Regions from separate parts of the Homo sapiens genome. Here all the other regions are linked to region 7. Evidence: promoter capture Hi-C in human tissues and cell types (Jung and others, 2019). All regions are on one chromosome and are shown on one strand. Each heading gives the region's core, a stretch centred on a gene start or on the middle of the fragment in contact. The rest is flanking DNA. Distances are from core to core; before and after follow the strand shown. Region 1 overlaps ADARB1 (adenosine deaminase RNA specific B1). Region 2 overlaps PCBP3 (poly(rC) binding protein 3). Region 3 holds the start of COL6A1 (collagen type VI alpha 1 chain). Region 4 has its middle 25 kb from the start of COL6A1. Region 5 overlaps ADARB1 (adenosine deaminase RNA specific B1). Region 6 overlaps ADARB1 (adenosine deaminase RNA specific B1). Region 7 holds the start of SLC19A1 (solute carrier family 19 member 1).

What was found. Contacts are between HindIII fragments. The study calls those that stand out against the background at their distance.
Region 1: a contact is called between a fragment that was not itself captured here and the fragment with the promoter of SLC19A1 in region 7, in 3 of the 25 tissues and cell types used here (H1 embryonic stem cells, aorta and lymphoblastoid cells).
Region 2: a contact is called between a fragment that was not itself captured here and the fragment with the promoter of SLC19A1 in region 7, in 2 of the 25 tissues and cell types used here (dorsolateral prefrontal cortex and lymphoblastoid cells).
Region 3: the fragment with the promoter of COL6A1 here is called in contact with the fragment with the promoter of SLC19A1 in region 7 in 2 of the 25 tissues and cell types used here (IMR-90 fibroblasts and mesenchymal stem cells).
Region 4: a fragment that was not itself captured here is called in contact with the fragment with the promoter of SLC19A1 in region 7 in 5 of the 25 tissues and cell types used here (H1 embryonic stem cells, IMR-90 fibroblasts, dorsolateral prefrontal cortex and 2 more).
Region 5: a contact is called between a fragment that was not itself captured here and the fragment with the promoter of SLC19A1 in region 7, in 1 of the 25 tissues and cell types used here (lymphoblastoid cells).
Region 6: a contact is called between a fragment that was not itself captured here and the fragment with the promoter of SLC19A1 in region 7, in 1 of the 25 tissues and cell types used here (dorsolateral prefrontal cortex).

What each region holds. Positions count from the first base shown.
Region 1 is chr21:45,138,853-45,141,735 of GRCh38, forward strand. The region is part of intron 2 of ADARB1 (adenosine deaminase RNA specific B1); the gene reads left to right. Among named protein-coding and RNA genes, the nearest start is that of ADARB1, 66 kb to the left of the region's middle. RefSeq lists an enhancer at 1-116. The HindIII fragment of the contact is 3,019 bases long and covers 1-2,883 here.
Region 2 is chr21:45,911,075-45,914,235 of GRCh38, forward strand. It overlaps PCBP3 (poly(rC) binding protein 3), which reads left to right. Exons shown (of 18, transcript NM_001384156.1): 12 at 2,877-2,951. Among named protein-coding and RNA genes, the nearest start is that of COL6A1, 69 kb to the right of the region's middle. The HindIII fragment of the contact is 6,282 bases long and covers 1-3,161 here.
Region 3 is chr21:45,979,928-45,983,189 of GRCh38, forward strand. COL6A1 (collagen type VI alpha 1 chain) reads left to right here and starts at 1,843. Exons shown (of 35, transcript NM_001848.3): 1 at 1,843-2,020; 2 at 2,707-2,836. The coding sequence starts at 1,924. It overlaps LOC105372841 (a long non-coding RNA gene), which reads left to right. Exons shown (of 3, transcript XR_937803.3): 3 at 1,363-1,639. RefSeq lists enhancers at 1,601-2,463, 2,464-3,262. The HindIII fragment of the contact is 42,283 bases long and covers 1-3,262 here.
Region 4 is chr21:45,955,025-45,957,895 of GRCh38, forward strand. No RefSeq gene overlaps it. Among named protein-coding and RNA genes, the nearest start is that of COL6A1, 25 kb to the right of the region's middle. The HindIII fragment of the contact is 8,613 bases long and covers 1-2,871 here.
Region 5 is chr21:45,117,014-45,120,076 of GRCh38, forward strand. The region is part of intron 1 of ADARB1 (adenosine deaminase RNA specific B1); the gene reads left to right. Among named protein-coding and RNA genes, the nearest start is that of ADARB1, 44 kb to the left of the region's middle. The HindIII fragment of the contact is 3,865 bases long and covers 1-3,063 here.
Region 6 is chr21:45,099,520-45,102,423 of GRCh38, forward strand. The region is part of intron 1 of ADARB1 (adenosine deaminase RNA specific B1); the gene reads left to right. Among named protein-coding and RNA genes, the nearest start is that of ADARB1, 26 kb to the left of the region's middle. The HindIII fragment of the contact is 4,715 bases long and covers 1-2,904 here.
Region 7 is chr21:45,540,856-45,544,137 of GRCh38, forward strand. It overlaps SLC19A1 (solute carrier family 19 member 1), which reads right to left and starts at 1,585. Exons shown (of 6, transcript NM_194255.4): 1 at 1,513-1,585. RefSeq lists silencers at 1,019-1,078, 1,429-1,738, 1,779-1,858 and an enhancer at 1,713-2,225. The HindIII fragment of the contact is 13,138 bases long and covers 1-3,282 here.

The DNA.
Region 1 (2,883 bases), core at 192-2,691, 400 kb before region 7:
GAAGCACTTATCTGGCCCTCAGCTCCTCGGTGGTGTCAGTTTGTCTGACCTCTGTCAGTTTGTTGTCTTCTTTTTTTTTTTTTTTTAAGACAGAGTCTCGCTCTGTTGCCTAGGCTGGAGTGCAGTGGCACAATCTTGGCTCACTGCAAGCTCCGCCTCTCGGGTTCAAGCGATTCACCTGCCACAGCCTCCTGAGTAGCTGAGACTACAGGCGCATGCCACCATGCCTGGCTAATTTTTGTAGTTTTTGTAGAGACGGGGTTTTGCTGTGTTGCCCAGGCTGGTCTTGAACTCCTGGGCTCAGGTGATCCACCCATCTCAGCCTCCCACTGTGCTGGGATTACAGGCGTGAGTCACTGCTCCCAGCCTTGTTTGTCTTCTGTGTTACCAAAGTAGAAAACTTCTTCTGTTCTGTAACCTTGGTTCAATCAAAGTTCCAAATTCATAAATGGCACTTATATTATTATGACGATTGCTGAAAGTCATGCCACAGTTTAATTTGCTTTATACTTGGATTTGGTATACTTGATTTTTTGGTTCTGTTTTCTCTTTTTCCTGATTTCCTTGATTTTTTTGGTTCCGTTTTCTCTTTCTCCTGGTTTCCTTGATTTTTTGGCTCCGTTTTCTCTTTTTCCCATATTCTTGCCTGGCATGGAGTGGTAGAGCAGAGTGGGGAATGGAGTTGAGTTTGGATCCAGCGGTCGAGCAAGTGTCTCAACTCCCATGCTCAGCTTCCTCCTCTGTCACGTGGGGCAGGGAAGGTGCCTGTCGGGCGCAGCGAGCGTGGTGAGTGGTAGTGTGGGGCCGCGTGCGCCCGTGGGCCCTGAGCATCAGCACTTCTGCCTCTCCGTGTTCTCTTGTTGAGAGGGACCACTGCCTTTCTTATGCTATCGCCAGCCTTTTCCAGCTTATTCATTCTGTTTCTTGGAACCCATTTAATTCATTCTTCTTGAAATATGTGTATTTTCTATTTTATTTCAAATTGAGACTTACCTTTCTTATAGAATTTGTTTTCTTCTGGGATCTCTTGATTTTTTTAAAATTGGATTTACTGAGGTAAAATGTACAGACAATAAAACTCTTTTTTTTTTTTTTTTTTTTTTTTTTTGACACAGAGTTTCGCTCTTGTCACCCAGGCTGGAGTGCAATGGCATGATCTCTACTCACTGCAACCTCTGCCTTCCAGGCTCAAGCGATTCTCCTGCCTCAGCCTCCCTAGTAGCTGGGATTACAGGCGCCCGCCACCATGCCCGGCTAATTTTGTATTTTTAGTAGAGATGGGGTGTTGCCATGTTGGCCAGGCTAGTCTCAAACTCCTGACCTCGGGTGATCCACCCACCTCAACCCAGCCAAAAATCATTCTTCTAAAGTGTGCACTCTAATATATTCTGACAAATGTATGCCAGTGCCACACCACCAAGCAGCTGAGGTAGAGAATATTCTTACCCCAAAAAGTTTCCTCTTACCCCGTGCAGATGTCCTACCCATCAGGGCCCAGGGCGACCTTGTCTGATGTTGATGTCCCATCAGATGGTTTGTATTCAGCAGAGCACCTAGACCAGGCTGTGAGGTACAGGTCCGCCCCTGGCAGCCCATGCCTTGTAGCTTCTGGGTGGCTCCTGGCTTGGTTGCTGTGGTGTGGAGCGTTGAGTGACCTCTGCAGAACAGCAGATGGTGCTGTAGGGCCGCTTCTAAGACTCAGTGGAGGAGGCTCAGTGGCGTTCTGAGCGGTGGCCACCAGGACAAACCTCTTGTCTTTACACCATCTGTGTGTGTGTGCGTGAGTGTATGTGTGTGTGCATTCCAGTGTGCGTCCAGAAGCCAGTTTCCTTCAGAAAGCTTTCTGTTCCCTGGCTTCATTTTTACCATTTAGAGGACCTGTGAAGCAATGAGATGGAATACTTATAGCTGGTTTAATTCAGTGAGTGATCTGAATTGTAAATAAAATTTTATCAAGTAATTTATAAATTTGATATAATAAATTAAGTCTGCGGAAGGGGCTGATTGTGTTATGGAATGAGAAGTTTTGTACATCTTTTGCAATTCTAAAAATTGTGGCCAGGTGTGGTGCTCAAGCCTATAATCCTAGAACTTTGGGAGGCTGAGACAGGAGGATTGCTTAAGCCCAGGAGTTTGAGACCAGTCTGGGTAACATGGTGAACCCCTGTCTGTACAAAAAATAAAAGTAAAAATAAATTAGCCAGGCATGGTGGCACATGCCTGTAGTCCCAGCTACTCGAGAGGCTGAGGTGGGAGAATTGCTTGATCCCAGGAGACGGGTGGCAATGAGCCAAGATTGTGCCAATGCACTCCAGCCTGGGCGACAGAGCGAGACCCTGTCTCAAAAAAAAAAGTTGTGACTTTGCTGTGTAGTCTTTGTGTAACATAATTTTATGATTCTATTGTTTTAAGCTTAATATTCCAAATAGGTAATAATTATGTTAAAATGCAAAAAATTAGCCTATACTCTCATGATCTAAATATGTAGTAGTGGTTTTACAGAATATATTTCAAAGGATTGCCATTCTGTTTTATTTTTAGTAGCCAGTTATAGAAAGCATTATTTTTAAATAATGCCTAAGAATCTTTAAAGAAATACCTGTCAATGTATGTTCCAGTTTAGTATCAAATTTATATTCAGAGCTCATAAGAATTTAAAAAGTTTCCCAGAGTCTGTAAATGGGGATGGAGCTGTCCTTCAAGGGTGATAGTCCCCCTAGGTTTGAGTTGTCCTCTGCTGCTAGCATAGTACCACCTGAGCTACCTGTGGGCCACCTTCACCACCCGTGGGTCCCTCCAGCCACCCCAGGGACACCTTAGCCTCCCTGGGTCGCCTTAGCCACCCCTGGGCCATGTTAGCCACCACAGGATCACCTTAGCATC
Region 2 (3,161 bases), core at 439-2,938, 370 kb after region 7:
GGCCTCCCAGCACTGCAGGCAAAGGCTTGGAAGCCCCGGTCGCCCCAAGGACTCACACAGTTGGGGCTGTGGGGGGCTCCTGACCCCAAGTCAGCCTGAGCGAGAGCGGTGCCGGTATGGGCGCCACAGGGGTGCTGGGGCTGCCAGCTCAGGGTCCAGTGTCTTCGTGGGGGCGTCTAGGGGAGAGCATGTGGAGAGGAGGGAGCCTCTCCTCTCATCTTCGGATTTGGGTAAGAAGTTGTCATCCCACTGAGGGGTCTTCTGCACTGAGTTGGAGCTGCAGAAACAGTGCTCTTTACGTTGGAGTCAGGCCTTGGGGGGCAGCTGGGGGTGGGAGGGAGGCAAAGGCAGGAGGCTCCTCTGCGCATGCAGTTCTGCAGAAGGAGGCGTCAAACCACCGTGGAGGAACAGAGGTCAAAACTCGGGAAAACATACAAAACTCATGCAGAAGTAGAGATGGGTGAACAAAAGCATTAAAACGGAAAAGCAGAGAAGAACCCGCTCAGAGCAGACGCCTCTCTTGAAGTTTCGGGGGGAGGAAAAAACTCAGAAGTATACTCAAAATTCATGAAGCTATCAACAGTTGCCAGTCTTTCCTGAAGCAAAAATGAAGAAGCCTCGCCCCAGATGGAAAGTTCTAGCAGCTCTGCAGGGTCAGCCTCCAGCCCCTCCTGCAGCCCAGGCTCACTCCTCTCTCGTACTTGGCTTGGGGTTCAAACCCCATGTTTGACTCTTTAAAAAATGTTTGCGTAGTTGTTGTTTCCCTGAAGTTTGATACTTTGTGAAGTGAAAAATATTTTTCAAAATATTCTTGTTCTGAAATCTTCCCCACTCCCTGGTTAGGGCGAAAGTGCCATGCTGGTCTGAGCTATCTGTTCAACTCTCCAGTCTCAGGCCCTGGAGGCCCTGCGGGCCGAGGCTCAGGAGCAGCCAGTGACACGAACAGTTCTAGGAGGGACATCCCTAATGGAGGGCCGAGGTCCAGCTCCTCAACAACACGTGGGTCTCGTCAGCGTCACCCAGTGCCTCTGCTGCCTGCGTCCCGGTGCAGTGCCAGGTGCAGCTCCACAGATGCAGGTGCACCCGCTGCCCCAAGGCTGCCCATGCCCCCAGAGCCATCATCCGAACCACCCTATCTCCTTCCTGGGCAGGGAGGTTTGAGCAAGACAGGGAGCTCGTAGCAGACATGGCCAGTGAAGATGGCCAGGCAGCTGCTCTCACTCCCGCTGGCTGTGCTGCATCCCAAGTCCCAGGGGCCATCATCCCAGGGAGGAAGATTCATCACACCTGGAAACAGCTGGGTCCGCCCTCAGATGAAGAGTGACTGGAAAAATAAAGCCAAGGATGCCTTAAAGACCCTCCTGGTTGATTGGAGGACTTCTGGGCTTGGTAGTGGGCATGCCTCACCTCACACCCAGGAGATGACGGAGGAAAGGGCTGCCCAGGGTGCCATGAGTCTGGGTGGGGCCTGCTGAGAATACAGACATCGCCACAGATGGTGCCCTGCCCACCCAGGGCCCAGCACCCTGTACCCAGTGCAGGGAGGCTCATGCAGTCCCAGGGGAGGCCAGCAGGCCCTGTGCCCAGAGAAGAAGTGGGAATCACAGGTCAGGGTCAGCTGGGAGCTCCTGTGCCTGGGTGGGGGTCGAGGGCCCATAGCACAGGGGCACTGGCCCGAGGCTGGGCATCTCCAGGAGCCGGGGAGGGCAGCAGCGGCTCCCGTCTACCTCAGTCAGTTCCTCCCACCCCAGGCCCAGCTCAAGTCAGCCCAGACCCGCCCCACATCCCCTTCCCCACAGTACTTGAGGTCACACCCCAGGGCCCTGGCGCTGCGGATCCAGCCACCCACTCCCCATCTTGGGGCTTTGAGTGTGAGTGGCGCTCCCTGAGTGCTGGGCTGGCCCTGAGTCAGCCAAGGCCCCAGAACTCCCAGCAGGACAGGCTGCCCCCTGCCAGGAACGGCTCATGGGCTCCAGCCCCCACCTCTTCCTGCTGGACCAACCCCAGCTGTGGTGCCCCCCAGGCCCAGGACTTCTGCCTCCTTGACCTGGGCCCTGGGGACAGTTAGACAGGGGACTCACCCAGGAGAAGGAGGGCAGGCTAAAAATGCTGGCGCTGGAGAATGTTAATCCTGTGTTTCCGACAGAATACCCAAGGGAAATTAAGGCAAACCTCATCGTAACTATGGGATTTTTTCCTCTGGAGTCTATAAGCACTTTAAACATGCTTTTTCACATAGTGAAGTGAGATGTTTCCAAGTCTCCTGTGGAGATCTCTGCTGACTGTCACCACGGGCCAAGCCAAGCGCTTTGGATATAGGTCCCGGTGGAGTCCTACAGGGCTCAACTTTCTCCAGAACATTCAAGAGAATTGCTCCAAGGGGCAGCTCCCTGTGAAGCCGTGCAGCCAGGCCTGCAGGGCCCTGCGCATCCCAGGAGGGGCCCCGGTGGAGGGGCCAGCACCGCAGGGGGCCGTCTGGGTTGGCGGCCAGCCCTTGTCCAGCAGGGTCTTGTGGGCAAGGGACCCACCCCAGCTGGCCTCCCACAATGGGACTGACTCTCCGCACTGCCACAGAGCCTCCCAGGGATGTTCGGGGCAGGCGGTACTCTCAGGAGGCCGGTGTGTGGCAAACTGCAGCCCAGGGCTCAGCAAAAAGGAGCCCTCTGGAGGGACAGGCCATAAGACAGCCACACAGAGGGTGTGGGGGCTGGAGGTCTTCACTCCCCTCCCCCAGCACTGCTGCGAAACTCGGGGAGGTGTGGGGAGCGTGGAGCTGGTGCAGGGGGCTGAGTGGGGTGGGCCGGGGCACGCCTCCCCATTGCCAGGCTGCGAAGCTGCTCTAACGCTCTCTCTCCCTCTCCTGTCCCTTTTCCTAGTCCCCACCGAAAGGTGCCACCATTCCCTACCGCCCAAAGCCCGCCTCCACCCCTGTCATTTTTGCAGGTGGTCAGGTAAGAGCCGATCCGCTCGCGGCCTCCACTGCCAACCTCAGCCTTTTACTGCAGCACCCGCCGCTGCCCGTTAGTGCACTCAGGTTTTCTCGCCTTCTCACGTGCACGTCTCCCACCCGTGCTGGAGGCAGAGCTCTTCCACCTACACCCAGCACCAGGCGGACGCAGGGGGCCTTCAGAGCGGCATTCCCCCACAGAGACGGCCCCACG
Region 3 (3,262 bases), core at 593-3,092, 440 kb after region 7:
CGAGGCAGGAGGACCACTTGAGTCCAGGAGTTCGAGACCAGCCTGGGCAACATCGTGAGACCCCCATCTCTACAAAACATACAAAATTAGCTGGGTATGGTGGCACATGCCTGTGATCCCAGCTACTCGGGAGGCTGAGGTGGAGGGATCACCTGAACCCAGGAGACTGAGGCTGCAGTGAGCTGTGATGAGGCCACTACGTTCCAGCCTGGATGACAGAGTGAGCCCCTTAGATAATAATAATAATAATAAGGAGGAGGAGGAGGAGGAGGAGGAGGAAAAGAAGGAGAAGTACTTTACAACTTCTGTAACGTAGGTGTGGGGAAAATATTGAAGGCAATCCAAAAACAGTCACTGTGGAGTTGTGGAATTAAGTATCAATTTTAAAGGTTTTTTCAAATGTTTCTTTAACATGGTTTTTGGTATGAACAATTTGTGTACGTTTTAAAATTATAAGACATTTAGGCTGGTGTTAGGCAAGTCTCAGCAGCTCCAGCTTTGGGAAAGCTCTTCTGGGACCTTCTGTGGGCCAGGGATGCATCTGGCCACATCTGGAGCCCACCCCCAGGTGATATCAGGGACAGCCCCTCTCTCCTCTCTCTGTCTCTCTTTCTGTCTCTCTGTCTCTGTCTCTCTGTCTCTGTCTCTCCGTCTCTGTCTGTCTCTCCTCTCTGTCTCTCTCTGTCTCTGTCTCTCTGTCTCTGTCTTTGTCTCTCTCTGTCTCTCCTCTCTCTGTGTCTCTGTCTCTGTCTCTCTCTCTGTCTCTCTCTGTCTGTCTCTCTGTCTCTCTCTGTCTCTGTCTCTCTCTGTCTGTCTCTGTCTCTCCTCTGTCTCTCTGTGTCTGTCTCTCTGTCTCTGTCTTTCTGTCTCTCTCTCACTGTCTCTGTCTCTCTCTGTCTCTCTGTCTCTGTGTCTCTCTGTCTCTGTCTCTCACTGTCTCTCTCTCTGTCTCTGTCTCTCTGTCTCTCTGTCTCTCTGTGTCTCTCTGTCTCTGTCTCTCTGTCTCTGTCTCTCCTCTGTCTCTCTGTGTCTCTCTCTGTCTTTCTGTCTCTCTGTCTCTCTCTGTCTCTGTCTCTCTCTCTGTCTCTGTCTCTCCTCTGTCTGTGTCTCTGTCTGTCTCTCTGTCTCTGTCTCTCTGTCTCTCTCTCACTGTCTCTCTCTGTCTCTCTGTCTCTGTCTCTCTGTCTCCACACACAGCATATATAACAACTATATTGTGAGCAACTTTGTCTTCCCACGGTACAAACTGAAATATCTTTGGCAAATACGTATCCGACTATACTGTGAAGAAATATTGACGTGAAAAAAGAACGCGGAGATCTGATAAAGCAACAATTCAGCTCACGGCGAGGTCCTCTGCAGGAGGCGGTTGGTGGGAAGAGGCGAGTGAGCCTGCCCGTGCGTCCCGCATGGAGACGTCTGGATTGGAAACTACCGAAAGATGTTTCAAGGAACTCTCCCTGGGTGACACGCTGGTTTTCAGACGTTTGATTCAGCTGCTGCAGTTTCCTCCTCCCTGACACGGGAACTGAACTGCAGGCCGCGGCGAGCCAGCCAGGGAAACCGCCTTCTCCCTGGGCTCGGAGCTGCTGCCGGTTCTGGAGGGAGAGACCCCAGCAAGGAGGTGGTGACTCATGGGCCGCTCCTCCCCGCCCCGCCCCGCCCCTCCCCTCCCGCCCCGCCCCTCCCCTCCCGCCCCTCCCCTCTCCTCCCGCCCCTCCCCTCCCCTCCCCTCTCCTCCCGCCCCGCCCCTCCCCTCCCCTCCCGCCCCTCCCCTCCCCTCCCGCCCCTCTCGCCCCGCCCCTCCCCTCCTTGCCCTCCGCTCTCACTCTGGCTGGGAGCAGAAGGCAGCCTCGGTCTCTGGGCGGCGGCGGCGGCCCACTCTGCCCTGGCCGCGCTGTGTGGTGACCGCAGGCCCCAGACATGAGGGCGGCCCGTGCTCTGCTGCCCCTGCTGCTGCAGGCCTGCTGGACAGCCGCGCAGGATGAGCCGGAGACCCCGAGGGCCGTGGCCTTCCAGGGTGAGTGGTGGCTTGGGGTGCAGGCTCCAGACCCCCCGCTCTTTGCTGCCGGCCAGGGCCAGATGCGCGGGGTCCCCTCCCACGCGTGGAACTGCAGACTGGGGGCCTGGAGCCCCTGAACCCCACTCCCCGCTCGGGGCGGCTGCAGCGCCCAGCTCTGCCCCACCGGGCCTTGGCCGGGGCCCCTAGAGGCTCAGCATTCAGCATTCTCAGCGGGGCCGGACCGCAGGCAGCTCGGGAGGGGCTCCCTGGCGAGGGGGAGCTGGTGCGGGGCTGTCTCGGCGCCCCGTGAATCCGTTTGACCCCTCACCTGGCAGTGAGTCCAGACGCACGGCCCCCCCGACCCCCGTTCTAGAAGAAGTCGTGCGCTGCTGGTTCTGAATCCAGCGAGAAACCTTCCCGTGAGGTCTCACTTGTCCGGTCCCGTGCCGGGGACGCCCTGCCCTTCGGGGGAGGTTGTGAAGGTTTCTGACTCCCCTCGAGGCACAGGAGCGGTTTGGGGTCTCTCACTCCACCCCCTCCCCACCGTCCCCACCGAGGGACGTCCTGCTGCCTTTTCCCGGGAGAGCCTCTCCGGGCCCGGGGCTCTGTGCTGCAGGCGCTGGGCTGGCCGGGAGGGCAGGCCCAGCAGAGACTCGGGGAATGGGGCGAGAGCTTGAAGGCCCCTCTCCTCCATCTTCGGCCAGACTGCCCCGTGGACCTGTTCTTTGTGCTGGACACCTCTGAGAGCGTGGCCCTGAGGCTGAAGCCCTACGGGGCCCTCGTGGACAAAGTCAAGTCCTTCACCAAGCGCTTCATCGACAACCTGAGGGACAGGTAGGAGGGACGCCCCGTGACCTTCCTCCTGTGCTTCTGGGCCTCTTGGAGGGAGGGGTGGGGGCCCAGGGGAACACGGGTGCGACGGCCTCAACCTCCTAAGGTTGGGCGAGCGTTGCCCTGACCGGGGCCCCTCCCGGCGCCCTCCAGAGTGAGGCCGGGGCCCTTTCCGGCGCCCTCCAGAGTGAGCTGGTCTGAGCCTCTCCCAGCGCCTTCCAGAGTGAGCTGGTTTGAGACCCTGCTCGCGGGGGTGGCACCTGTTCAGCAGGGCCGAGGTGACAGTGAGGCTGAGATGTAGGGAAGAGAGGCTCCCGCAGGCTGACCGAGAGGGCTCAGCGCACTGGCCCAGACACGCAGTCCTGCCTGGTGCGCGGGAGCCCCTCACTAACCACCTGGACCCTGGTTTGTTCCGTGGGCAGTGAGAGC
Region 4 (2,871 bases), core at 158-2,657, 410 kb after region 7:
TCTTTTCTTTTTTCTTTTTTTTTTTTTTTTGAAAGAAGGTCTTGCTCTGTTCCCCAGGCTGGAGTGCAGTGGTGCTGTCATAGCTCACTGAAGCCTCAAACTCCTAGACTCAAGCAACCCTCCCACCTCAGCCTCTTAAGTAGCTGGGACTACAAGTGCTGTTAGAAATACCAAAATTGTTCGAAATAGATAATCGGTGCCGCGAAGAAAAGTCAGCACAGACACAAAAGATCTCTCAGCAAGGCCATCTTTACTTTCTGCAGAAAGGGTGCTCAGTCACAGATGGAATGATCGCGAGAGGTCACCTAAGCAAAGGAAAGGCAGACATAATTAACCCTTAAGCATTTGGGTCGTCCTTACTGTTGTGTCCTGCATCCATTGGCTGGAGCTGGGCCTCACAGTCTTAAACTGATACCTGATTTGCTAATAACCTGAAACTTTCCTAAATAGGTAATTAGGAAAGGTCTAAGGAAGCAATAACATTTCCAAATAAGGAAGGGGCATAGGCTGTGAGCTGGAACGTGTCTGTGAGCATGTCCAACAATTACATGGGATAGGGCTTAACAAAGAGTTATTAGCACAAAGCAAGGAGAATTGAAGAAAGTCTTTAAAAGAAACTATTATTTCTAACACTTATGATGTATTCTTTAACAAGAAGGGGAAATTTGAAGAGGAAAACTTTTACTCTCTACAAGCGTGCACCACCACACCCAGCTAATTTATTTTTTCATTTATTGTAGAAGCAGGGTCTTGCTTTGTTGCCCGGGTTGGTCTGCAATTCCTAGGCTCAAGCGATCCTCCACCTCGGCCTCCTGTAGTCACCTGGGATTACAAGTGTGAGCCCCCACGCCCGTCCTATTGAAAATGTATTTATGACTGTATATTTCTAGGTACTCTTAACTGTGTCCTGTGACTTTTGACATACGGTATTATCATTATTATTCAATTCTAAAGAGGTTTTTCATTCCCTCAAGAGTTCTACTTACCCAAAGGTTACTAGTAAAATGTTATTAAATATCCAAACACATGAGATTCTCTCAGGTATCCTTTGAATATTCATTTCCAAATGTTTTGCATCATGGTACGAATTCATAATCTCCATGACACGGATCCTTTGGGGTTTACTGAGGCATCTTTTATGACCTAATCCAATGGTCTCTTTTTGTAAGTCTTCCACGTCTGCTTGAGTAGAAGTGTATTCTCTGCCTGCCACCCGCTCTATGTGGATCTAATAGCTGGTGACTGCGTTGTCAAGTCTTGAACAGCTTTGATGCTTTTTGTCTGATGTGATCTATGTAGAAGGCAGAATCATGGCCCCCAAAAGATGTGCAAATCCTAAACCCCAGAACCCATGAATACATCATATTCCATAGCAAGGGGGTATTAATGTTGCCAATTAATTAAGGTTTCTACTCAGTTGACATGAAAATAAAGAGGTAACTCTGGCTTATCCAGGTGGGTGCAATTTAATTACAAACGCTTAAATGGGGAGGTCAGGGGCAGAGGGATGATGTCACAAACACACCCATGTGTGCTTGGTGCAAAACAGTAAAACAAACAGCAAGAAGGTCCATGAAGGAAAGATCGCCTCTGTCAGTGGGAGTAATGAGAGTGGCTGATGGACAGGTGTGTTAGGCTGTTTGCACTGCTATAAAGAAATACCTGGGGTTGGGTAATTTATAAAGAAAAGAGGTTTATTTGGCTCACGGTTTTGTAGGCTACACAAGCATGGCCCCAGTGTCTGCTTCTGGGGAAGCCTTGGGAAGTGATAGTCATTGCAGAAAGTGGCCATGGAAGCAGGCACATCCCATGGCAAGAACAGGAGCAAGGGACAGAGTGGGCAGAGGAGCCAGGCTCCTTTAAACAACCAGCTCTCATGGGAACTGAGTGAGAACGTGCTCATTGCCAAGAAGATGGCTCTAGGCTATTCATGAGACATCCACCCCGTGATCCAATACCTCCCCCCGGGGCCCACCTGCAACACTGTGAAACACATTTTCACATGAGATTTGGAGGAGACAAAACCTCCAAACCATATCAAGTGGCACACTCACAAGAAAACGTGTCAGTGGCCAAGACGATTTGCAATGAGGACTGGATGAGGCTGGGACCCAACTCTCTGTCTCTGACATTCCTGCTCATCTCATGGACAGAGGCACTGATTGTTCTAGACCATCTTTCCAAGGGTGTTGTTTTGTGACAGCCTTGATAATATGTCCTTCCAGATCAAAGGGCAGGTTGCTTACACCCTAATCCTGAAGGTAAAGACGTTTTCTCCCTCCAAAGCAAAGAGCAGGCATGCTTACTGTCCATTATAAAAGATTCACGTTCCCTGAGCTCAGGGTTCCTCTCCTGCAGTGCAGTCCACGGTGTGTGCAGATGCCACTGGGCCCACTCTGTGTCACTGTTTGGGAAACGGGGCTCGGAAACTGGTGTGAAAAGTATGCTGATACTCTGTTAGAAAAAAATGCCAACATTCTGGCTACTGATATTGCTGTGAGTAATAAAGTACTTCATCCTTGAAAAACCAAAAGGCCCAGTTAAGATAAGGTGGACAGAAAAACACCTAAACAAAGGTAAGGCTTGCTATGGAGAGTCAAGCCAACACTGCCTCCAGTGTAAGAGTTTCTAGTGACTTCGTTCCCCTTCTTTTCCCAATGCAAAGACAGAGATGCCCTTTAAATGGAGGTTTCAGCTGGGCGGTGGCTCACTCCTGTAATCCCAGCACTTTGAGAGGCTGAGGCAGGCAGATCACTTGAGTTCAGGAGTTGGAGACCAGCCTGGGCAACATAGTGAGAGCCCATCTCTACAAAAAATACAAACATTAGCCAGGCGTGGTGTTGCATACCTGTAGCCCGAGCTACTTGGGAG
Region 5 (3,063 bases), core at 391-2,890, 420 kb before region 7:
GATGACACTGGCGCATGGAGGAATGGTTTGTATTTTAATTTTCACTGTATAACATTTTAGTAAAGCTTTTACTGGAAATGTTTTCTACCCATATCCTCAGGAAACCATGTGAAGTAGACAGCCTTGCATTTCCTGGATTGCTCCCTCGAAGGATGAAGGGAGCAGTTCTATCAGATGCTCTTCCCAGCCTCCTTCTCCAGGGAGACCTAGCCGCTGCTGTTTTGAGTTTCCTGGGAGGACATCCCCCAAGGACTCTCTGGCTTGTCCTTGTGAAGTTGGTTTGCTTTTTGTGCCAGCTTTTTAGGCTTACAAAATGTTGTGTGTGTGTACATAGGAAAAATATGGAAGGGTACGTACCCACTAGTTTGTGTCAGCACTGGATTCTGGCATATATAATAGATGAGGAGTTTCTGTTATGTATATGGGATTTCTGAGATACACAGGGGTTTTCTGTGCACATCTCTCTATAACGCAGCTGTCCCGTCACATCCTGCATGTCAGTACAGGTAGTGCCGTTCTCTTCGTAGGACTGTGACACTTTATCTTTGTTCTTTCACAGTTAAAAAAAAAAAAGCTTCTTTAAAATTCTGACTTTATATAACTAACGCAATGCTCATGCTACTTCACTTGTTACAAGAACATATTATTCTGTCCTATAGATGTACTGCAGTTATTTAATGGATCAGCTATTGATAAGGGGGCCCTTTTAATGTAACTATTTTAAAAAATGGAAGTAATACCAGCACATGGTAAAAAACACATTGCAGCTCATGAATGGGTATAAATTAAGTTGGAGATTTCCTCTTTCTCCCTCCCCACCCCATGCCCCGTTTCCAGAGGTAAACAATGTACAGTTTGTGTTTTCTTCTCTTAAGTTCTTCTTGTAGTCACCATTATAGCTTTAACTTTTCTGTTTGTGAGTTCATGTGGAAGTCAACAGTGCCTTCACACTCTGAGTTTTGATGAGATTTATATTGACAAGGCTTAAAACATTTGTAGTGTTTCCCATCTATCATTAGGCTCCCTGTGCTTTTCCTGCAAGTGTAGTCTAAACATTTTAATATAAGAAAAGTAACATTTATAGTATTATGATAGTATATTTTGCCATAGAACCAAGTGGTATGAAATGTAATTCTGCCTCACCAAACCTTTGCCAATAAAAGGAGAATATTCAGATGGAACTCCCAGTTTCTCTTTAGGTGTCCGCTGTTTCTAGCTGCCTCAGTTGCCATGGTTTCTCCTATCCCATGGTGTTGGTTTCTTGGATTCTATTTTTGTTTTGCTGGAGCACCTCCTTAATCCACTTCCTTATAGAATGGATGGCTGACAGACTTCTTAATTCACTTCCTTATAGAATGGATGGCTGACAGACTTCTTAATTCACTTCCTTATAGAATGGATGGCTGACAGACTTCTTGGGTTTTTGCACGTAATGTTCAAACATGCAATTACTTTGTTCTCATACTTATTGATAATTTGGTAGGGTCTAGAATTCTAGGATCGTATAATTTTCCTTTTGAAATCAGAAAATATTCTCTATTATTTTCCAGAGTCTAGTGTTGGTAATGAGAAGTTGGATATCCGTTTGATCCTTGTTCTACTGCAGGTAAACATCTTCTACTCTCTCCTTCTCTCCCTCCCTGGGCTTCATGTCCTGACGGTTTGATTTTTCGTTACCCTAAACCCGGATCTGCTTCTCTTCCAGCCCGCGTGCCCATATTGGGATCACCCCTTAGAAAACCTCAGGCTTTCTTTGGAGAGCGATTCTCAGGTTTCAGCCCAGGAATAAAAGCGTTCCCTATGGCTCCTGCTTCTTGGGAAGACCCCTCACCTCTGTTGTCTTGCTCTGCAGTTTCCTCTGCTCTCTCGCATCAACCTGCTTTCGTCTGCCTTATGCCCTAAAAGCCCTGGCAGGCTTTCTTGTGTTCTGCTAAATCCCTCTGTAAATTTTTAGCACCGTGCACTATTATGGTTCATTCACCACCAAAAAGTACCTTTTCTGACATTTTAACAGAGCTCTGGGAAGAATGGAGAGAAGATATGGTGTACTTTATCACCATTTTTAATTAAAAGCCCTTTTAATTAATTAATTTAGAGGCAGGGTCTCGCTCTGTCACCCAGGGTGAAGTGCAGTAGTGTGATCGTGGCTCACTGCAGCCTCCACCTTCTGGGCTCAAGCAATACTCCTGTTATCAGCCTCTTGAGTAGCTTGGACCACAGTCACGTGCCACATTGACTGATTAATTTTTAAATTTTTTGTAGAGGTGGGGTCTTGCCGTGTTGCCCAGACTGGTCTCGAACTCCTAGGCTCAAGCCATCCTCCCACCTTGGCCTCCCAAAGTGCTGAGCACACCACTGTGCCTAGCCTAAAAGCCTTTTTAGATCACTCTCAGTGGCAAAATTAGTGCCTTGGTCACCTTTACCAGTAGCTGTTCTTGCTCTCCAGTGGAAATATCACTCAACATTATCAAAGAATCGGGATGAAATTAAATGAACCAGTTTAGGTACTTTTGATACAGAAGTTCTTATGAGACGTGTTGTTCTTTACTATGTAAGAGTGTGGCCATAAACTTAAAAATAGCTGGGTAACTTTGTTACACTTGCCTTGATGGTGTGTTGCAAGTTAGTTAAATTTCATATACTCTTAATCAGCACATCACCAACAAATAAAATGTTACTGCTGCATCAGAATTTAGAGGAGGTTCTATACATCTGTTTCGAAATAAAGACGGAGATGACTTAGGGTACTTATAAGTTGTTGAAAAATCATGGCTCCTGAAACTATGAATTGTCATCGTGGTATATACCCAGACAGCCCACATTAAACTGCTGTGAACATGAGAAAATGGACATCGAAATGATAAAAGCAAGAGTGTTGGTAATTGAAATCCATTATAAATAAAGCTGTCATTGGTAACGCACGAAATGCTGTTTCTGAGGATGAGGACTTTGTGGCCCCCACGTGGGCGCATTACCAAGCTTTGCAGCTCTGCACAGGAGCCTCCCTTCTTGATACTGAACTAGACCTCTATAAAGCCTAGTAACACCTCAGGTTTAGGTTAT
Region 6 (2,904 bases), core at 248-2,747, 440 kb before region 7:
TAGCTGGGTGTGGTGGCGCACACCTGTGATCCCAGCGAGCAGGAGGCTGATACATGAGAATCACTTGAACCTTGGGAGGGGACCACTCCAGCCTGGGTGACAGAGCGAGACTCTGTCTCAAAAAAATAAAAAATAAAAATTTACAATTTATGTTAAAATATGTCATTTTAAGTTATGTAAATCCAAGCATAATTACTGAACACAAGGCTCAATCCAAAACATGCACAGTAAGCCCGTGTGAAGTGTTCACATGCTGTTCTGAGGCTGGCTGGATCTGGAGTTTCTGGGAGTGCTCTCTTGGGCTGGCACGTCTTGGGCTGTGGGGGCCCTGAAGCCCTCCTAGATGCTGGACATTGGTGTGTGTGCAACTTGGTGGTGGTGTTGGGGTTACTTTCCAGAAGCTACTCAAGGCTTAGTCTCAGTTTCTATCTAAAGATATTTATATGGGAAGTATTCCAAATGTGGATTTATAAAGATAACACATGGATAGAAATAGTGTAAAACTTGTGTGAACTGAACCAGCCAAGCTTCTAGTCTTCCCTTTCCAAAACTTTCCTTTTTCTCCCCCCGTGTTAAAGATTTAAAAATATATGTTTAAAAAGGTCACTTTTAACTTGTAAAAATTATTCAACATATACAGAAATTTAAAAAGCAGCATTGCAGGTTATGTGAGATTATGTATGTCTGCTCTTTGGAACTAGGTTGAAATGATAGCTACAAGGTTCTTTGGAAGAATGGGGATGTGTGGGTGAGAGTGGAGTAGACAGGCTGGGCTTACTAACTAGGCTTGCACTGGCCCCCGTCAGTCACTGTTCCCAAGTCAAATACTGCATTGCACTGAACACCAGAGCAGCAGTGCATTTCCTAGAGAACTCTGCAAGGCTACAGGTGGCAGACTTAGGGAGCGCTTGCCATCCCTGCCCTTCCCAGCTCTACCCAGAACAAGGAGGCCTCGCACACTACCTGGTCATATTTTGACTTCATGCATTTAATGAACCAAACTAAAGGTAAATATTTTCTTTTGATTCCCAAGGCAGACTTGTGGGTACCCAAGTTCCTCAGCCCATCTTTAACTCAGTAGGATGTGGCATCTCCATTGAGGCTCTTCATGGAATCCCTGGAGGTGAAACCTCGGTGTCCGGTTGCTCCAAACCAGTGCTGGTGGGATTCAGTTTTCTGGACCCATTTCTGGGTGAAGTCAAGGAATGGAGGCGGGCGGCTGTCAAGCGTCTCTGTTGCTCAATGGGGCAGGCCAGTCCCAGCGGCGACTTAGAGGTGGCTGGCTGGGCGTCCCTACAGGAGAATGGGCCACAGGGCCAGCGGGGCCAGCAGGATGAGCAGGCCTGGTTTGGGGTATGGGCCGCAGGCGTGGAGCTCGATGCTGGGCAGGGGCCTGCTCACTGACGAGTTGCCACCCGGGATTGGGGTAGGGGTGGGCGCGGTGGTCTCGGGCTCTGAGCGGCTCTGCACCGGCAGGAGCAGGACTGGCAGCAGCAGCAGCAGCGCCAGTGCGGATCGGGCCGCCATGGCCAAGCGCTCCGGCTCGTCCCGTAGCAGTGCCGCGGCGGCGGCCGCTGCCGGGAGTGTCTGTTCCGCGGTTACGCGGGGTCCTCTCCGGTCCTGTCCAGTGAGGTCCTGACAGCTGTACCCTGGCCCAACCCCTGCCCACGGCTGTTAACGATCAGCCTCGGGGAGCAGGTGTGCCGCCACGCGCGCCGTAGCGCTCCGGAGCTGGCTCTGCGCTCACGTGCTCGCTGTGCCCTGCGCGCGGGCGGGCCGTGTCCCCGCAGCCCCGCGCCTGGCGCTGCCAAGCTGCCCAGCGGGCTTTAGCAGGTGCTGAAATGCCCGCTGCCAGTCGCCGAGTGCTGGGTGCAGAGGATCTCTCCAGACACCTAGGCTCCCTTCTTTCGCGGCACGTGGGAAAAACTCCTGAAGTGCGTGCACAGAGTTTTTGTTTTAGAGGCTTTGACGTTATGATTAAGTATACCTGTGATGTAACGAAAACCTTTTTTAATGCTTCTCAAAAGATTTGCTAGCGTTTAACATTTACCTCCTGTACTGGAGTTTAAAGGAAGCGTTGCTTCTTAAGTAATCAGTGATCCTTTTGCTTTTGGAAATTGTAATGAACTTCACCATCGTAGAGCTTTAATATTTCTTTCCTGAAGCAGAAAGCATGTGAAATTTTCTGGATAGTGTATACTTAATACACAAGCTTTTGGAGTTTTTGAATGCTGGGTATGTTAGCACACCAGTCTTGCTGACTATTACGTGGGAGATGAGTGCTGCTTAAAATTGTGTAAGGGGTCAGTAGTTACAGTGGTGGACATACTTTTGCCAGACATGGTTTATTTTAAAGTGAACATATTTTGTGCTTATTTATTTATTTGGGACAGGGTCTCACTCTGTTACTCAGGCTGGAGTGCAGTGGTAATCATGGTTCACTGCAGCCTCAACTTCCAGGCTCAAGTGATCCTCCCACCTCAGCCTCCTGAGTAGCTGGGACTGTGGGGCTACAGGCGCACTACCACACCCAGCTAACTTTTTTTATTTTTTGTAGAGACGGAGTCTTGCTGTGTTGCCCAGGCTAGACTTGAACTCCTGGCGTCAAGCGATCCTCCCTCTTCGGCCTCCCAAGTTGCTGGGATTACAGATGTGAGCCACCATGCCTGGCCAATGTGCTTATTTTAATTCTAAATCAGAATTTCTATAATTATCTTCCTTACCTTGGTGTCTGTCTGTTATCAGCACAAGGGTTTAAAATAATTTTTGATTTCTTGGAAGTAATTACGCAGGCAGTTCAATGGGAGAAGGCACTTTCCTCAGCACATTTGGGGTGCTGTTGTCAGAAAGAAGGGGATGGATTCAAGTCAGCAAAACCAGCTGTAACCACAACTATATTTTTTA
Region 7 (3,282 bases), core at 335-2,834:
GTGACCAGCCCCACCCAGGCCCTGTCCTTCCAAGCACCAGAGAAGGCCAGAGACCCGCAATCAAAACACAAGCAAACGCCACCTATCATTCCGTGTTTAAACCAGCTCCTACTCTGGAAGGCTAACCAAGAATGTTCGTTATGTTTTTTAGAACGCCTGCTAGTTTAAAAAGAAGAAGAAGAAAGCATTGCACACCCTCCCACCCCTGTTCAGATGACCAAGTTCAGGGTTCCTAACAGCATAATTAGACCCTCCGGCTATCACTGCTGCAGGCCCAAACACCCGAGAAGCACTCTTTCTCATCTGTGTCCAGCAGAGATAACTGTACTATCTGGAATTATAAAAATCCACCAAAGCCCCTTCGGAAAGAAAGCAATTAGCAATTGCAACAAGCAGTGCACAGGTGGCACCCAGGCAAAGGCGGCCAGTGAGATGCAGCCTGGCTCCCAGGCCTGGACAGGGCAGGCAGGTGCACTGGGCCAGAGGCACCTCGGCTCTGCTGATTGAATCTGGGCTGTGCGGGGATCCTCGGGTCTCCGTAGGGGGAGGCCACCTCTTTACAGGGCGGCCAACAGGCGCCTCCAAGGACTTTATCCCACCTTCCCTCTGGATGCATTCTGGATTTCGGGGCCAGCTTAGTTGGCCTGTGTCCTGAGGCCAGGCAGGCCAGACTCCCCAGGACAGGAGTTTCCGATGGACAGGACCCTAGGGGGATGGCTTTCCTGCTGTAGCGGTGTTGGAAGGACCCACTCGGGAAAGGCTCCAGCGGCTGTCCAGGCTCTCTCTGAGACGCCTCGGGATTGCTCCGCTGGATCCGCACCCACAGCTGCTCCAAGGGGAAGTTGCACCTACAAAGCTTCTGGCACAGGAGACAATGGTCTGGAGATGTGCCAGGGGCCCGCCCCACGCGTGGCTGGCAGGGTTCACCCACCGGCTGGCCCGTCCCGAAGCAACACGTGCCTGGGCGCGAACGCCGGATCCACGCTTTCCTCCAGACCCGGGGGTGGGACTTGGCGCCCCAGGATGACGCGGAGGGCAGGCTGGGGGCCGGGACTCCCCACCCCATTCGCAGGCTGCGGCGGAAAGCGAGCGGCGGGAAACCCGCTGCACAGCAACGGTTCTGCCAGGCGCCCGGGCCACCGCGACCCCCGCGGAGACCCCGGCCCACGCCCCGCACCCTCCCCAGGGCCCCCCAGACCCCAGGCTGCAGACCGCAGACCCCGGCCACGCCCCGCACCCTCCCCAGGGCCCCCCAGACCCCAGGCTGCAGACCGCAGACCCCGGCCCACGCCCCGCACCCTCCCCAGGGCCCCGCGGACCCCAGGCTGCAGACCGCAGACCCCGGCCCACGCCCCGCACCCTCCCCAGGGCCCCGCGGACCCCAGCGCCAGCCCCCACACTCACCTCACAGGGCCCTGCAAACCTCGGCCCGCGCCCCGCACTCACCCCAGGGCCCCGAGACACCCCGCAGCCCCCGACACGCGGCCCCGTGGCCCCGTTCCCCACCGGTACCTGCGACTCGGCGGGGCGGCTGCCCTGGGGCTCCCGGACCCGGCCCCGCGCACGCGGACTCCGGGACTACAGCGCCCACAAGGCGGCGCGGCGGGCGCGCGGCTGCGGGGTGGGCGGGTCCGTCCCGCCGAACGCGTCCTGAGGGCGGGGCCTCGCGCGTGGCCGGGCGCTGCGGCAGGAGCGTCCCCACGGGGCACCCTCCCACCCACGGCCGTCTCCCAGCCCCGGCGCCGGCCTCTCCCCACCCGGTCACCGCCGGGGTCACGCGGCCCCTCGTGCTGCGGCCCTACCCCTGGGGCCGCCCCCTGACCCCGACCGCCCCTCGGGCCCCCACCCCCGCCGGCGTCAGCATCCTGGGGTGCCACTCGCGGAGGTGTCGGTCCCTCGGGCGGGCACCCTGCCATCCCTCTCCCCCGCGTTCTTCCCACCCCCGGTCCCCTCCTGACCCCCCCTCCTCGACGAGGCCTTGTGCGTTTTCCTTTTGGCACCCTGGAACACCTGCATTCCTGGCCGCAAGCTGGATCCGGGACGCGGGTCGGGCCCACGCGCCCTCAGGGGTGGCCCTGGGCCGCCTTCGTGGGGCTCCAACAGGGACACGCACAGCCTGCTCTTGGGGACCGCACGGCCCCGAACTCGGCGCCCCCGGGACCCCGCCGCCCGCCCTCCTGCCTGACCGTGACCCGTACGGGCTTGTACCAAGGAGCAAGCCGGATCCAGGACGTGGCCCGGGGCCACCAGTCCCCATCCCAGCAGGGACAGCCCGGGGGAGACCCGCGCAGGCCTCGCAGACGGCAGCGCAGTCACACTCAGGAAGGGGGGCCTGGGCCACTCTCCCAGGAAGGCGTGGGGCTGCGGCAGACAGCACCGCCGAAAGCCCAAGGCCTGTGCAGGACACGGGGAGAAGTGGGGGGCCTCAGGGTCACTTTCCCCTGGAGTTACCCAGGGCCTGGCTATGGGGAGGGAAGCCAAGCCGAGGGCTGTGGGGGCCCCAAGGCTAAGGAGGAGCCAGGAAGTCCACTGCACAGAACAGAAGGGGACGGCCACCGTGGTACCCACAGCTCAAGAGTGCGGGTCCCAGGCGAGGGGTGAGTCTGGGGCAGCAGCCCCTGGAATGTACCCCTTCCGGAGTGTAGACAGCACAATCCGCGACCTGCCTCCTGGTGTTGCGGGGGTGCTCTTGGTCTCCCGCCCACCAGCAGGGCAACCCCACCAGGAAGCCAACACAGGGCCCTTGCCCTAAATGGCCGCCTGCCCAAAGCTCTGGCCTGGGCCTTCTTTCCAGAGTCCTGAGTGTAGCAAGCCACACGAACAAATCTCAAAGGAACTTAAAAAGGATTTGTTGGCTGGAAATGGGGGATCTGGGGTAGCTTGCAGAATTTAAGGGAACACTACAGGATGGAGCGCCTCACCTGGAGGGACCCCCTGCTTTGTGGGAGCCCTGGCTCTCTCCCCTGTACTGGCCTTCTCCACGGGTGGGCAGAACCTGGCCCTGCTGGAAGACAGGAGGGGCAACGCGGAGGAGGAGGGGCCCTTCCTTCCCTCCAGGCAGAGAGGAGCCAGCCATGGGGCCAGCTCGCCAGGGCAGCCTGCTCCCTTTACACGCAGGACAGGCCAGGAAGCCGAGGGGAAGTGGGGATGAACAGCAGCGGGGCTCCTAGACCCCTTCCCACAGAAGGATGGCTCCCACCCCCTTCCCGCCTGGAGACAGCAAGGCAGGGAGCCACAGCCCCAAGGGGACCCCGCAGGACCCACAAAGACCAGTCCCTCACC